Linked DNA regions of Homo sapiens: region 1 is linked to region 2. Evidence: promoter capture Hi-C in 16 types of primary human blood cells and fetal thymus (Javierre and others, 2016). All regions are on one chromosome and are shown on one strand. The core of a region is centred on a gene start or on the middle of the fragment in contact, and the rest is flanking DNA. Distances in the headings are between cores, read along the strand shown.

Region 1 (2,744 bases), core at 89-2,588, 53 kb after region 2:
GAATGTGGCAAAAATGTTGGTTTTTTTTTTATTATTTATTTTGAGATGGAATCTCACTCTGTCGCCTGGGCTGGAGTGCAGTGTCACGATCTCGGCTCACTGCAACCTCCGGTGCCCAGGTTCTAGGGATTCCCCTGCCTCAGCCTCCTGAGTAGCTGGGATTACAGGCACGTACCACCACGTCCGGCTAATTTTTGTATTTTTAGTAGAGATGAGGTTTCACCATATTGGCCAGACTGGTCTCAAACTCCTGACCTCAGATGATCCACCCGCCTTGGCCTCCCAAAGTGCTGGGATTACAGGCATGAGCCACCGTGCCTGGCCAAAAATGTTCTTAATAAAGCAAATTAAGTTTGTTGGCCAGGTGCGGTGGCTCACGCCTGTAATCCCGGCACTTTGGGAGACCGAGGCGGGTGGATCACCTGAGGTCAGGAGTTCGAGACCAATCTGGCAAACATGGTGAAACCCCGTCTCTACTAAAAATACAAAAAATTAGCCTCAGCTACTTGGGAGGCTGAGGTGGGAAAATTGCTTGAACCCAGGAGGTGGAGGTTGCAGTGAGCCGAGATCACCCCACTGCACTCCAGCCTGGCGACAGACGGAGACTCTGTCTCAAAAAATAAATCAATAAAACAAATTTAAAAAATAAAATACATTTGTTTAGCCAATATGTGCAGATGCTCAGAGGGAAAAAGAATTGTTTAGCCCAGTGTTCCTCAAATGTGTTCCACTGTAACTTTCAACAGCCCATGAAATTAGTGTTCCATGGAACACCTCTGGGGAAAGCATCTGGCTAAAGCTTAAGATCCACCTTAAAAGTAAATTCTTTTTTTTTTTTTTTTTTTTTGAGACAGTCTCGCTCTGCCACCCAGGCTGTAGTACGATGTCACAATCTCAGCTCACGACAACCTCGACCTCCTGGGTTCAAGTGATTATCCTGCCTCAGCCTCCTGAGTAACTGGGATTACAGGTGTATGCTACCGTGCCCGGCTAATTTTTGTATTTTTTACCAGAGACGGGGTTTCACCATTTTGGCCAGGCTGCCCTTGAACTCCTGATCTCAAGTGATCCGCCCACCTCAGCCTCTCAAAGTGCTGGGATTACAGGCGTGAGCCACCACGCCTGGCCAAGAGTCAATTCTTTAAAGCCTTCCAAACTTCACCAAAAAGGCATCCCCCTTCCTCAATATTCTCACAGGCTTTAGCCCTGAACTCGGCTTTGCAATGACCTGTGTATCATCTGCTCCCACTTAGGCTCCGCGATACAGGTTCACCATCTACCACGATTCCTGGCTCCAGCAGGACTTCAATGTTGGTTGAAAGAACCACCAACTGAACGCTGGGAATTGTGGAAAAGGAGTGGAAAATTCCCAGGTTTTTACTCTGGATGACTGGGTTAGGGAAAATACTTAGAAGGAACATATGATTTGGTAGGAAAAAGGGAAAGTCCATTTTGGATATGTGGGAAATATATCCTGGAAAGATGAAAATGTCCAGCAGACAGCTGGAAATGTGGATTTGAAATCTGGAAGACAGATCTGGACTGGGGATTTGAAGAGTATTATTACAGGTGACAAATGAAGCTATGAAAGAATCAATAACATCACCCAGGGGAAAAAAAGAGTGAAAATGGCCAGGGATATAGTTGCCTAGAGAACACTAATATTTTTAAAGTGCAAAGAAAGTTTCTCAAGCCATAAAACTAGGAATTTCCCTTGAATACTCCCCTCTCCTGCCCGCAAAACAAAGCCATCTAGTCCAGCAACCCAGTCCTGTCACCTCTGCCCTCAGGAACTGTCCAAAACCCATCTCCTCTTCTCCATCTCCACTGCTACCACCAGCCCCAGCCCTGGCATCTAGAGAGCTACAAAAGCTTTATATGCATCCACTCCTATCCACACCAACCCCAGGCATCCTCCACCTAGCACCAGAACCATCTTCCAAAACTTAAAGATCGGCCGGGCACAGTGGCTCACACCTGTAATCCCAGCACTTTAGGAGGCCGAGATGGGCGGATCACGAGGTCAGGAGATAGAGACCATCCTGGCTAACACGGTGAAACCCGTCTCTACTAAAAAAAAAAATACAAAAAAATTAGCCGGGTGTGGTGGCGGGCACCTGTAGTCCCAGCTACTTGGGAGGCTGAGGCAGGAAAATGGCGTGAACCCGGGAGGCGGAGCTTGTAGTGAGCTGAGATTGCGCCCCTGCACTCCAGACTGGTCAGCAGAGCAAAAAAACCTAAGTTGGATCATATCATGTTTCTGCTCCCTATCCTGCTACTGCTTCCTACTGCACTTGATCTGGTCCTAGGTGCCACGCTGCTCCAGACACACTGGCCTGCTTTCTGTTCTTCATGCCAGCTCAGAAGGGTCCTAACTCAGACACTTGGTACTGGTGGTTCTCTCTAACTGGAATGTTCTAAGACTTTCAGCTGACTGACAGCCTCTCAATCATCAAGCTCAAATCAAGGCATCTTAAGCTACGACTGTCATTTAGTATCACATGACTCTGCTTTTAATTTTTGCTTAGCACTTATTATAACAAAGTTAACAAAAATATTGACCTCCTCTTTCTCCATGACAGCAGAATTTTAATTTGTCCTATTCGCTACTGTACACAGCAGTTCCCTTGGTGTCCATGGGGAATTGGTTCTAAGACCCCTGCCCAGCCTCGCCGGGACACCAAAATCCAAGGATGCTCAAGTCCCTTACATAAAATGGCCTAGTATTTGCAATAATATATACA
Region 2 (2,700 bases), core at 173-2,672:
TGTGTCCCTGACATTCAGCGAGGAGGGCAGGGCTGAAGCCTGGGGCGCAGAGAGGCCCTGTCCCAACCTGTGAGTGTATGGGGGAGGGTGAGTGATTCAGGCACAGGGACACCTGCTCCGCGAGAGAGACCACTTGAGTCCTTGTTTCTGAATCATTTCACTCTCAAAACACAGGCAAATGCAGCTTTCAGGTCCCTGGCCAGGAAGTGCCTCGGGAGTCTGAGGGCAGAGCTGGCTGCATCCTCCCAGGTGCAAGGAAGCACACTCCCTGTAGCTAACAGTCCCTGGTCACCCACCTACCAGCGCCCACCAGCAGGGCCCTCTGACCCTGCCTCAGGCCGGGATCACTAAAGCCTGCGTCCCTGTGCCTCCAAACCTCAGTTTCTCTGTTCCTGCATTCCGGTCCCAGGCCTAAATCTGACAGACACCTTCTCTCCTGCTCCCAGGAGGTTGCAGCTGGGACTCTCCTAGCCTAACCCCAGGACCCCAGGGCTGGGGTAGTTGCAGAGGGTGGGCTGGCCCTAAAGTTTCTCTGTGGGCAGGAGCCCTTCTCTTGGTCAGGTGAGGCCAGGCCAGACCACACACAGACCAGTGCTGGCTGTGCGCTCCCTCCCCAGACCTCCCGTCGGACCATCTCCCCCTGAGTCCTGCAGCCCTGGCACCTTTGGTTCTGGGCCCTCTGCAGATGGGTGTCACAGGGTGGCCATCCAGCTCAGTGCAGGAGCAGCTGGAGGTCAGGCTGGCCTGTCTGTTCAGCCCCTTCAGAGCCCCCTCCCCAGGCTGTGCCTTATCCTAGCCCACACACTGTGGAGTAGTGGTGTCTCTTAGGTGGCAAGGATATCTGGCCAAGGAATGTGTCCTTTAGGGCCAGTCTGAGAAAGGCATTAAGCAGGCTCTTTTTAGGGGGCTGGAGGAAGGAGTCCCACCTCTACCCTGCTCCACGTGGTCCCAGTATGGAGGTGCCTTTGAAGCAGAGCCAGGGAATGGGGGCCGCTTGCTGGGACGCCCAGAGAGGGGACAGCTGGAAAGAGCAGAGATCAGCTTCCCCAAGCCCATGGCTATCCTACCATTTGTCCTGGCACCCTTGCCACCCCCAAGTCCTACAGCTCTCACAGCCAGGTGCCCCCCAGTTCCCTGAAAGTCCCCACCCTCTTCCAGCTTGGGCCTGGGCTGGAGTCCCCACCTCTGCCCTCCACCTGGGCCTAGGGGGCAGAGGGCAAGCTGTAGGGATCTAAGGCCCACCCTCTTCCTAGATAGGAACCAGCCCACCTTGCAGCAGGACTCCCAGGAGGGTGACAGCAGCCAGTAGAGCTACCTCGTCCTTCATGGTACCGTCGGTGTGGTGGCACGGGCTGTGTGTGAAGGCGAGCTGGGGAACGCTTAGCCCCGTCTGCTGCTCAGAGGACGGCCCAGGAGAGGAAGAGCAGCCTCGGTGCTCTCCCCGCCCCATCTCAGTGGAGGGGGTGCACGGGGGTGTGACCATACCACACAGAGCCAGGGAGCCAGGCCAAGCCAGCAGGGAGGAAACCAAAGTCTGGGCAGGGGAGAGCAGCTAGCTGGAGACCGCCTCACCACTTCCTGCTTGTTCGTGCCCCTTCCTTGCCTAGTCCCGCGTGGCAGAGCCCAAGCTGTCCATCTGGGTCAGCTCCAGCTGTGGGTGTGCCCCCTGCTGCACCACCCCACTTTCTCCAGGGCCTTGCAGACCCCCACATCATGCTGGAGCCAGCCCCAGGCTCCCGGCTAACTCCTCCACCCACCTTATCTGTTCCCTGTCCCCATCCAGGCTGTTCCTGGCAACCCCTGCCAAACCCTCCTCTGCGGAAGCCCTTCCCAGTGCCTTTGGCTTCAGAATGGAGTCCCAGCGCCCCCCCAGCCACACTGGGCCCCACAAGCTCTTTCTCCTTCAGGAAACCTCATGCCTGCCAGCCTTAGTCGTTGTAGGGGTTCCATGCACAAGGGCCACCCTGCCAGGAGGAAACCTGTCCAAGGCCCCCTGGGTGGCGGGAGGGTCAGCCCTTGTGGGCCATCCCTCTCCCAGGCCTCTCTTGGGCCTCCCACAACAGTCACCTGCTGTGTCTTTCTGCCCCGCAGCCCTCTTGCCTCAAGGTAACAACCCTCCACCACCTTCCTAGACGGCTGCCCTCCCCACACTCAGGCCCTGTGGTCTGGACAGTGCTGACTCCTGCCCCTTCCAGGCCTGTGAGATGGACACTGAGCCAAGGCTGACTCAAGATGGTGAGATGTAGTTCTGGAAACTTCCTTAGGACTTTGGGACAGGAAACTCAGAGTGGGGAGGGGGACTACGGCGGGCCACCCTGAGGACAGAGCCCACGCAGGGCCAGGTGGAGAGGAAAGGTGGCACCCGAGGACTCCTGCCTGGAGTTCTGGGTGTCTCCCTCGCCCCGCCTGGAGCGCCCCCGGCCGCCCCCCTCGCCCTGCCTGGAGTGCCCCTGGCCGCCAGCCTTCCCAGTTGGGCCTAACGGTCACTTCCTCTTTTGGCTTGAGTGGGTTTGCGGTGGCTTTTGGTCAGAAGTGGCAAAGTCCAGACTGACCCAGAAGCACGGGCAGGAGCTGGGGGAGGCCACAGGCCGTGCTGCAGGGGTCGGGCCGCATGGTTCTGCCCTCGCACCTGGTCCTTCCTTGCTGCCCCAAGCTCAGCTCCAGCCTGAGGCTCGGAGCCTGTTGGGCTCTCTCAGAATC

Evidence for each region. Contacts are between HindIII fragments. The CHiCAGO score rates a contact against its expected background, and 5 or more counts as called.
Region 1: a fragment that was not itself captured here is called in contact with the fragment with the promoter of LTC4S in region 2 in 2 of 17 cell types (monocytes and M0 macrophages); the score reaches 6.9 in monocytes.

What each region holds. Positions count from the first base shown.
Region 1 is chr5:179,739,787-179,742,530 of GRCh38, reverse strand. All of the region lies in intron 1 of MAML1 (mastermind like transcriptional coactivator 1), which reads right to left. Among named protein-coding and RNA genes, the nearest start is that of MAML1, 8.3 kb to the right of the region's middle. The HindIII fragment of the contact is 1,073 bases long and covers 802-1,874 here.
Region 2 is chr5:179,792,708-179,795,407 of GRCh38, reverse strand. LTC4S (leukotriene C4 synthase) reads right to left here and starts at 1,422. Exons shown (of 5, transcript NM_145867.2): 1 at 1,270-1,422. The coding sequence starts at 1,327. RefSeq lists enhancers at 1-299, 1,783-1,932, 1,953-2,032, 1,607-2,234 and a silencer at 1,363-1,432. The HindIII fragment of the contact is 38,202 bases long and covers 1-2,700 here.